3 separate regions of the Homo sapiens genome follow, and regions 2 and 3 are each linked to region 1. The links are contacts of gene promoters, found by promoter capture Hi-C in human tissues and cell types (Jung and others, 2019). All regions are on one chromosome and are shown on one strand. The core of a region is centred on a gene start or on the middle of the fragment in contact, and the rest is flanking DNA. Distances in the headings are between cores, read along the strand shown.

Region 1 (3,327 bases), core at 308-2,807:
CGGAGACAAAGCACACAGCCGGCTTCCAACAAGGGGGGACCTTGGGGTAGGGGGCCCGATTTGGGTCTGAGCCAGGTCTAGTTCTGAGGGTCCCACCAAAAAAGTCGGGGAGTGCCAAGGGGATGAGGTCAGCGAGTGGCCCCACCCCCATCCGTCCCCGCGGGGGCCCCTTCCCGCGCTGAGCTCAGCATGACTCAGCAGTCGCTGCCTGCAACAAGGACCCCAGATACCGGCCTGGCGGGGCATCTGCAGATCCCCTCGGTCAGGGGCTGCCCCGCCTGGGCTGTTCGGAGCAGCTCCTCTGTAGGGCAGGGCCTGACCTCACCCCACACCCCAGTGGCTTCAGCTCCCTGCCCAGCGCACGGGCTGCCTCCATCAGGGCACTTAAGTAGAGTCAAGGTTTGCGCCGACTCCGTCTCCCAGAAATCAACGTGGACCAGGCCCACTTAAAAAATATGCATTAGTCGAAGACAGACGTCTCGTCCATAGGTCCCCAGACTGTTTGTCCACAACGCAGGGCTTCTCTTTGTGGGCCTGAAGGAGCACACGTCAGGCAAGACACGAGGGCAACTTCAGAGACACTGTTCAGGGCCACGGAGAATTCTCGAAGTCTGTGAGTTGTCTCCAAAACAGCCTCCAGGAAATGCAATCCCAGAGACACCGCAAAGCTCAAAACAGACTTTTCATTCCTCCCCATTTCCACTCCCAGAAAAAGCCTGGGCCCCTGAAAGAGCTCCAAGGTATCCCCAAAGTCCCAGCCCATCTTTGGAGGGTTCCAGAGGGCTGTCCAGGGTTCCAGAAGTCACCCTACCTCATACAATGCTCCTCCTGGGCTTCCCGCACTGGGTGAAACCCACGGCTCCAGAATAACTGCCCTTTCCAACTTGCAGAGCACCTCAAGAACCTAAAGATTTCCCCGGGGAGGGCTCCAAAATATAGAGAGTTTGCATCGTGAACCCCCACCCCTGTAAATCCCAGGACTCCAGTCCCCGCAACACTCCATCTTCCAGAGATCTCCAGGGGTCCAGAAATAACACCTCACAGCCTTCCAAGCTTCCCAAGGATCCGGAGACTCCTTATCTCGCAGCGCAAACCTCAGGCAACTACAGGTCCTCCCTGCACCTTTGAGGTGCCCCTCCCCCCACTCAAGGTTCCAGAAAAATCCATGCCCTCGGAAACCCCAGAATCTTACTTTCCCGAGGCACCCCAGGACCCCAGGGTCATCAGTTCACAGGGCTGTTAGTGCTCCCATAAAACTCTAGCCTCCCAGAGGGACCCCAGCCCCCACCCTCCCGCCCACGAACCCCTGCATTTCCAGAATCAGCCCCAGGGCCCCAACCCCCCCAAGCCCCCATTTCACAACACGCTGGCGCTACAGGCGCGTGACTTCCCCTTGCTTTGGGGCGGGGGGCTGAGACTCCTATGTGCTCCGGATTGGTCAGGCACGGCCTTCGGCCCCGCCTCCTGCCACCGCAGATTGGCCGCTAGCCCTCCCCGAGCGCCCTGCCTCCGAGGGCCGGCGCACCATAAAAGAAGCCGCCCTAGCCACGTCCCCTCGCAGTTCGGCGGTCCCGCGGGTCTGTCTCTTGCTTCAACAGTGTTTGGACGGAACAGATCCGGGGACTCTCTTCCAGCCTCCGACCGCCCTCCGATTTCCTCTCCGCTTGCAACCTCCGGGACCATCTTCTCGGCCATCTCCTGCTTCTGGGACCTGCCAGCACCGTTTTTGTGGTTAGCTCCTTCTTGCCAACCAACCATGAGCTCCCAGATTCGTCAGAATTATTCCACCGACGTGGAGGCAGCCGTCAACAGCCTGGTCAATTTGTACCTGCAGGCCTCCTACACCTACCTCTCTCTGGTGAGTCCCCAGGACGCCCCTGGCCCTAATTTCCTCCAGCTGCGCACCTCCGGCCCTCACTGCACGCGCCAGCCTTCTTTGTGCGGTCGGGTAAACAGAGGGCGGAGTCCCCTTGGCCTCGCCTCCCGCTAACCATTGTTGCCTCCATCTCTTCCCGTAGGGCTTCTATTTCGACCGCGATGATGTGGCTCTGGAAGGCGTGAGCCACTTCTTCCGCGAATTGGCCGAGGAGAAGCGCGAGGGCTACGAGCGTCTCCTGAAGATGCAAAACCAGCGTGGCGGCCGCGCTCTCTTCCAGGACATCAAGGTAACTAGTGTGTGGGTAATGGACTACATCTCCCAGCAGGCCGTGCGCGCGAGGAGCCTTGATTTGAGGGCGTAGGTGTCGCGTGGGCTTCTGGGAGATTGAGTTCGGTCTTGTGAGCCCTCTTAACCGCTGGAAATAGAGGCGCACCTCGTGCAGTGCCCACAACACGCGGCAGTCCACACCGCTGCGTGGTCTTAGGGACGTATAGCTGTAAGAGCTAGGACAGGGTGCGGAGAGTGATAAATACAAGCTGTCACATGTCTTTGTGGCCTGGGCCTCTGACCCCCAACGACTCTTGGGAAATGTAGGTTTAGTTCTATGTGCCGAGTGTGTGTATTCTGAGCCATTTCTCCCTTCTATATAGAAGCCAGCTGAAGATGAGTGGGGTAAAACCCCAGACGCCATGAAAGCTGCCATGGCCCTGGAGAAAAAGCTGAACCAGGCCCTTTTGGATCTTCATGCCCTGGGTTCTGCCCGCACGGACCCCCATGTACGTACCCGCTGCATCCATGGCTACCCAACCATACCCCTCAAGCCTCTGCTCCCTTTGGGCAAATTTCCTTCAGAGCCTCATTTCACACCTGTCACATTTTAATCTGCAACTGGCTGCTCTCTCCCCCTCTTTTCCAGGGATTGGGTTTCTAATTTCTCCCTCTTCTCTCTCAGCTCTGTGACTTCCTGGAGACTCACTTCCTAGATGAGGAAGTGAAGCTTATCAAGAAGATGGGTGACCACCTGACCAACCTCCACAGGCTGGGTGGCCCGGAGGCTGGGCTGGGCGAGTATCTCTTCGAAAGGCTCACTCTCAAGCACGACTAAGAGCCTTCTGAGCCCAGCGACTTCTGAAGGGCCCCTTGCAAAGTAATAGGGCTTCTGCCTAAGCCTCTCCCTCCAGCCAATAGGCAGCTTTCTTAACTATCCTAACAAGCCTTGGACCAAATGGAAATAAAGCTTTTTGATGCAGCTGGTGGTTTTGTGTGTGGTGTGGAAGATGAGGTGGGATCTGTTCTCATAAAGCTTCTGGCTGGGTTGGGATGCCAGTGAAAGAGGAGTTGGCCCCATCTCCCATTTTCTTAACTGTCCTAAGACAAGAGGCTATCTGGGTAGTGTTGAACCTGAGGGTTCTCTGCTTGCCTGGCTGTTAACTGTCCCTCCCAGATGG
Region 2 (3,327 bases), core at 336-2,835, 700 kb after region 1:
GTTTACCACCTCTGGCATATACTAATTCGGTAGTTAGGAACCTCAGATTTGGGGCTCCAGGCCTCACCTCTGATGTTTCAAGAACCATCCCCCAGTATCTATCCTACAACCAAGAGCCCCGGCCTCTAGAAAGCCCCAAACCCCCAGGATGCATTTCCTTTGCGTACTAACCGGCTTTCCCGGTTTTATTCCCGTAACCCTGCAGCTCCAACCCTGCTTGCGCCCCACCATCAGTCAGCGGATCCGGCTAGCCCCGCCCCTCCCGTTCTAGCCCCACCCACCAGCGTTGGCACGAGCCCGCCCCTCGCGCGCCACCTCCGCCTTCTCAGCCGGGCCCACTAGGAGTCCTTTCCGCCCAGCGCGCAGCTCCGGGTTTCCAGCGTCCCAGGTCGTCGCACGCACCTGGAAGATTCCGAAATCCTCCTGCTGTGCATCCTGCCGTAGGCCGTGCTTCCAAGGGATGCGGAAGCGCGTGCGGCTCTTGTTCACCCAGGCCACGCCCTCCAGTTGCCCCAGGTCCAGCTGCGACACCAGCCAGGGCAGGATCCGTGGCTTTGGGGTTCCCATGGTCCGGCCTGCGCGTATAGGGCATTTCCTGGGCGCGACCGGCCTCCCCCGGACCCACCTGGCCTGGAGTTTCCGCACCCAGACCTCCTTCTCACGGGCCACGGCACAGGTCCTTCACCCATATTTTCGGGGGTACAAACAGGAAACCTCCTCTTCCCATCCTCCCATCCTCCCGAGAGGCTCTCTAATCAGCTAGGGTTCCTTCCCATATCCATGGCACATCCTTCCCCAGCGTCTTCAGTGCAGACCCTCCACTCCCTCAATTCCGCCAGTATAGACCTCCTCCCTCCCCCACATCATCGAAAGTAAGTATCCCCACTTTCAGGGTAGCATCCTCTTTCCCTAGTTATTTCAGTGCAGAATCGATTCACGTGTAAGCCTCTACCTCCTGCACTTACCCCAATGTAGACCCCCTTCCACAGTCCCCCTACAGAAGATCTCCCAAAACATTTCCAACACAGAACTTCCATTCAATTCCCCTCCGACTGCCCGCCTCCCTCCTCCAGGACAGAGCACGCCCCAGGTTTCGAGACTGAACTACCCCCATCTACGGAGTCCACCCCTCCCTCTCTAGAACCCCCTCAGTGTAGACGCCTCCTCTTTTCCTCTTTCCTCCCTACTTTTTCTAGTTTTTCTGCAGCCGACCTCCAGCGTCGGCCACTGTAGCTCCTTCCTTGCTCCACTTTCCCCAGAGTACACAGCCTGCCTTTCCACTCTCCGTGCAGACCCATCCTCTTTCCCGCTCCTCGCTCTCGGACGCCACCAACGCTCTCCCGGGCTCTTCCGCGTTACCTACGATGGAAGGTCGGGGCGTGCGGGCAGCTGGAACCCACCCCTGTCTTGGAGCTCCGGGTAGCTCTCAAACTCGAGGCTGCGCACCCCCTTTCCCGTCAGCTGAGCTCTAGAGCGCTGGGGCTTTCTTTTTGATCGACTTCTTGAAATAAAACCAACTTTATCATTCTTTGGGTAACAGACCCAAAAGCCGATGGGACGGCCCGCTGGGCTGTTCCCGCCCCTATGCCCTTTTTTGGGTTTCCGGCCAGAGGCATGCTGGGAGCGTCACATGCAAATTGAGCGTGCACCCAGCGTTCCGCCCTTTCTACGCTGGGCCGGTTATCGACCCGGCCCAGTGCGCAGGCGCGGGAAAGTTGAACTAATAAAGTTTGTACGAGTTCAGTGGAGGAGACCGCAAGTTGAGTGGAGGAGGCGGCGGTGGGGCCCCGGACCAGGTCAGCGGGGTGTTGACGAGGGGTGGGGTGAGGAGGGAAGAGGAGGGGGCCGGGATCCAGTGGTGGGCACCCCAGTCCCGCTTCTCTGATATCCAAGGGTCCAGGGTCCTCTAGATTCCAGCAGGGGTCGGAGATTTGGAACTACACCTCACAGCAGGCTGCGCGGCGAAGAAGCGCGGACCTAGGGGAAGATTTGCCCTGAAACCTCTTGGGATTGGTAGTTCCCGATGCTTTAAGGGTTTCAGGAGTTTGGCATATGCCTCTTATAGAATCCAGGAGTTGGGGCGCTAAGCCTCTTCTTCCTGGGAGACCTAAGGGTCTGGGGCTCCAGTTCCTTTTTCTCTAAGACTCAGAAGTCCAGGACCCCAGCTCCCTCCTCCTTTAGACCCACGAATCTGGGCACCCAGCCCCACCACCTTTCCTTGGATCGAAGAGTCTTTTTCCTGATCGCTTTTTCGTCTGAGGACTCAAGAGTCTAGGCCCCCAGACCCACACTCTCCAAAGGACCCAGGAGTCCAGGCCCTCAGCACCTTCCTTGGGACTCACAAGTCCTGGTCCCCAAGCCTCCACTTCTTGCTAAACCCTTGGAGTCCAGTCCCTAACCCTCTCTCTCACAGGTGCCTCCATGGCAGGCTCTGAAGAGCTGGGGCTCCGGGAAGACACGCTGAGGGTCCTAGCTGCCTTCCTTAGGCGTGGTGAGGCTGCCGGGTCTCCTGTTCCAACTCCACCTAGGTAAGAGGAGTGGCCCTTCTCCCCCAGGGGCCAGCATTTGAGGCTCCCTCCTAACTCTTGCTCCTGGTCTCAGTCTGTCTCCTCTCTTTATATCTGGCTCTATTCTCTGTCTTTGGGGTTTTGGAGAGAGGTCCTCAGCGGGGGAGGGAGGGAGTTGGGGAAAGAGACTGCTTGCAGGGGATCTCTGGTGGGGTCAGTCTCTGAAGTCCTCCTCTCCAGAAGCCCTGCCCAAGAAGAGCCAACAGACTTCCTGAGCCGCCTTCGAAGATGTCTTCCCTGCTCCCTGGGGCGAGGAGCAGCCCCCTCTGAGTCCCCTCGGCCTTGCTCTCTGCCCATCCGCCCCTGCTATGGTTTAGAGCCTGGTAAGAGATTTCCATGATCATCTATGAAGCCGGCAGAACACGGGATAAGGTGCTAGTTTAAGATCACTCAGCTAGGGGGTGGCTGTGTGGAGTCTCTAGCACCAGCCTTCAGGACAGAACCGTCCTGTCCTCTCCCCTCCCCAGTTAGATTTCTGTCAATTCTGTGGGTTGGCTTTCAGAGAGCATTTGGTCAATCTGGTTGTTGTCTCTTTCCTTCCATAACTACTTCCCTGCCCCTAGGACTTTTGTAGCCAGGAATACCCCTGATAGAGGGGCAGAAGGGCTGGTTTTCAATCACATCTCCCTGGCTGTTTTAGTTGCGTGACTCTGGGGAAAATGCTTTCTCTTCCCTGCTCCCCTGTTTTTCCAATAGCAGAGTAGGAATTGGGGAGGAGGTCACTGGACTTGATCAAGGTGACCCACAAGTTTCCTCATAG
Region 3 (3,327 bases), core at 237-2,736, 620 kb after region 1:
ACCAAAGTGGAGTGGAAGGGGGAACAGTTCTAAATTAAGAGAGATGTAAAAGACGATAGCAATTACTTAACTATATCCTGATTCCAACAAACCCACAGTTACACTGGACTTGACTCTGCACCACGTAATGGATAGTAGTCTAGAATTACGGTTGTTCTTTTAAAGTGTGATGATGGTATTGTGGTCATATCAGCAATGTTTCTGGTTTTTACACACGCACCCTGTTAGATAAAATTTATAGAAGGTCATTGGTTTGGATTGAGCTCCTGCACTAGGTTCAACAGACCAAACCAAAATGGAGACACTCATGCTAAAGTTCCATGCTTCCAAGCCAAAACTAAGTTGATATCTGATCTTCTGAGATATCAGGAGAGAGATAATAGCCAAATCCCCAAACAACCCAGTTTTAGCCCACCTGATAAAGGAAGTCCCCTCTACTTTAACCTTTAACTTAGAAATTTAATCAAGTTAATCAATTTAATCAACTAGCTTTTTGTTTTCCGTTTCTGATTTTCTCAGCCCTTTGTCTCTGAAAACAACCTCTGCTCAGCTCATCGGAACACTCACGCTATTTTCCATAATTAGATGTTGTTTGATTGTAGATTCACGAATAAATGCCAATTAAGATCTTCTCACTAAATGTGTTGCAATTTTGTCTTTTGACAATCCTTAAGTGTCATGATGCCTACGATTTGTTTTAATCTCTTTAAGTTTAAAAAAATACAGCAAGTATGGCAAAAATAATCATTGGTGATTTGGGTGACAGGAATTCCTGTATTCTTCTCTCACTTTTATATAAGTTTGAACATTTTCGTAAGAAAACATTAACATCAAACTGCCTCAAGGACCGTTCAAGCCCCAAGTTCACAGAATTAGCAGCACAATCAGAATGGGAATCCATGACTGCCTGACCCCGAAGCTCCACACAAGAAAACGTGAATCCCTGCACCAACCCCGAAAGGGAAGGGGCTGTCAAAAAGGTGAAGAGAAGGTGGCGATGGATGACTGCACAATCTAGTATCGCCCGCCGTCCCACCACAGTCTGAGAAACTGAGGCCAGGAAAGGAGTTCTCCCTCCTCAACTCCCACTCCTTAGACCCCCAGCAATCCCAGTCCACTCCTTCCCTTGGGACCACCAGCAAATAGCCATCATCTACAGCAGAACTGTAACTCTCAGGAGAACTGGCCGATGCTAGCTACCACTTGACTGAGTTTATAGTGAGAGAGAGAGACAAAGAGAGAGAGAACTGCCCGATGGACGGTTGGCCACCTCCAGCAGAGTGTAGTTCAGCTTCAAACTTGGGGCGCCCGGACAGCTGTATTAATAATGATTGACAGGGAATCGGGAATCCAAAATCTTGCCCCAGTCTCCCTCAAGACCCCAGGCCTCTAGCCCGCAGGAAAGCGATCCCAGCAACACTCTTCCTGCACCGCCTCGAACTCACCTCACTAACGACTCCCAGTCCCTCGGTCGCTTCTTCAACTGTGCCCCGACACCGGAAAGGAGCACTATTTTCCCCCTCCGCTCCGCCCACTTCCGCCCAGCAGAAGGCACCGGAAGTAGAGCTGCCCCTAGTTGCGGAAGTGCCTCGCCTGGCTTGCTCAAGTCCTCTCTTCTCTTTCTCTCTCCGGAAACGTGAGTAGCTAATCGAAAGTTCCGGATATTGAAACTGGTGGGAATATGGGGAACGCTTACTATGTACGAGGCATTTCCCAGGGAGATCGTTTTTTCCTGCTTGGTTCCCAGGTTTTGAGTCTCTCCAAGCCCAAATTTAAGGACTAATCACTTCCCCTAGAGATCGGGAAGCCCACTTTCCCAAATATATCATCCACTTTTCTTGCTGCATCTTAAAACAATTGAGAAGAGACAACTACGCTCCCATTTTACAGACAGAGCCATTGGGAAATTGAAAATCAAAGCCGTTCAAGTCGCTCTCAGGAAACAGGGATTTACTGCGGCACTGCCCAGCTGTCCCAGGGACTAAGGCATATCGTTCCCGCTAGTTTCTAGATACCTAGAGACCTAGATATTAATTTTTCTAGCTCGGACAGACGAACTCCCAGGGGAGAGCCAGAGCGGGTAGGGGTCGGGAGGGAGGAGGAGGGTCGAATCTAATCCCCCAGGTATCCCATGGTATTCGACACCTTGGCTTCCTCATGGAGCTCTGGCCTTTAAGTCCTTTATCCCAAGGTCCCTTTAAATACTTTGTCCCTTACCTGAGTCCCGCCCAGGGCAGGTAATGGCAAGTTCCGCCCACCTGCCAGAAACGGGGATCAGGCCTGGTTACCGGGAGTGGGGCGCCCCTCCTCCTTATCCCCTCCCCTCTTCCCTGTCCCCTTTCACAGCTGGCTGTAGCTGGCCAAGGAGTTCTCGATTAAAGAGGAAGGGGCAGTGCTCACATTTCTGGGCAGGTAAGTGAATGTCCCTGGAGGAAGAGCCTGGCTTGGGGACCCAGGCATCCTGGCTCCCCGCCCCTCCGAGACCCAGAAGTTTGGGGCTCCTAGGCCCAGGAGTCCAGGGCCCCTGCCCACTTAGGTCCCTAGACCCAATAATATAACTAATCCCCTGCCTCTGCCTCTCTCGTAATCTTTGTTGTCTGTGGGTGGATGTGACAATGAGCACAGAAAGAGGCACAAGTGGAAATTACCAGGAAGGGAAGACTCCAGATCACCAGTGGACATGTTTATAAGCATCTGTGTCAGGTGCTGTAGACACAGTGGGGAAAGAAAGATAAGCTGCCTGCTCCTTGCTTTCTTCTCTGGCGGACACTGCCTTCACTGAAATCCTGGCTCTCACACTTGCACACTGTGTGACCTTCGGCAAGCTATATTACCTCTCTGTGCCTCAGTTTCCTGTTCTCTATACTGGGGATAATAATAGGACTCCTGGTCGGGCGCAGTGGCTCACACCTGTAATCCCAGCACTTTGGGAGGCCGAGGCGGGTGGATCACTTGAGGTCAGGAGTTTGAGACCAGCCTGGCCAACATGGTGAAACCCCATCTCTACTAAAAATACAAAAAATTAGCCAGGCGTGGTGGTGCGCACCTGTAATCTCAACTACCCGGGAGGCTGAGTCAGGAGAATCGCTTGAACCCAGGAGGCAGAGGTCACAGTGAGCTGAGATAGCGCCACTGCACTCCAGCCTGGGTGACAGAGCGAGACTCTGTCTAAAAAAAAAAAAAAAAAAAAACTCCTGTGAAAAGTTTTGTTTTGTTTTGTTTTTGACATGGAATCTCGCTCTGTCACCCAGGCTGGAGTGCAGTGGCACAGTCTCGGCTCACTGCAACCTCTGTCTCCCCTTTCAAGTGATTATTCTGGCTCAGCCT

The links. Contacts are between HindIII fragments. The study calls those that stand out against the background at their distance.
Region 2: a contact is called between the fragment with the promoter of IRF3 here and the fragment with the promoter of FTL in region 1, in 4 of the 25 tissues and cell types used here (dorsolateral prefrontal cortex, hippocampus, pancreas and 1 more).
Region 3: a contact is called between the fragment with the promoter of NOSIP here and the fragment with the promoter of FTL in region 1, in 1 of the 25 tissues and cell types used here (thymus).

Annotation. Positions count from the first base shown.
Region 1 is chr19:48,963,752-48,967,078 of GRCh38, forward strand. FTL (ferritin light chain) reads left to right here and starts at 1,558. Exons shown (of 4, transcript NM_000146.4): 1 at 1,558-1,858; 2 at 2,019-2,165; 3 at 2,530-2,655; 4 at 2,832-3,128. The coding sequence starts at 1,757. The coding sequence ends at 2,984. RefSeq lists a cis regulatory region at 1-457, enhancers at 139-248, 1,798-1,847 and a silencer at 1,388-1,547. The HindIII fragment of the contact is 5,012 bases long and covers 1-3,327 here.
Region 2 is chr19:49,664,272-49,667,598 of GRCh38, forward strand. It overlaps IRF3 (interferon regulatory factor 3), which reads right to left and starts at 1,586. Exons shown (of 8, transcript NM_001571.6): 1 at 1,360-1,586; 2 at 403-575. The coding sequence starts at 567. It overlaps BCL2L12 (BCL2 like 12), which reads left to right and starts at 1,662. Exons shown (of 7, transcript NM_138639.2): 1 at 1,662-1,796; 2 at 2,414-2,528; 3 at 2,748-2,890. The coding sequence starts at 2,422. RefSeq lists silencers at 1,565-1,714, 1,755-1,834. The HindIII fragment of the contact is 43,433 bases long and covers 1-3,327 here.
Region 3 is chr19:49,579,070-49,582,396 of GRCh38, forward strand. It overlaps NOSIP (nitric oxide synthase interacting protein), which reads right to left and starts at 1,487. Exons shown (of 9, transcript NM_001270960.2): 1 at 1,446-1,487. It overlaps PRRG2 (proline rich and Gla domain 2), which reads left to right and starts at 2,247. Exons shown (of 7, transcript NM_000951.3): 1 at 2,247-2,412. The HindIII fragment of the contact is 33,716 bases long and covers 1-3,327 here.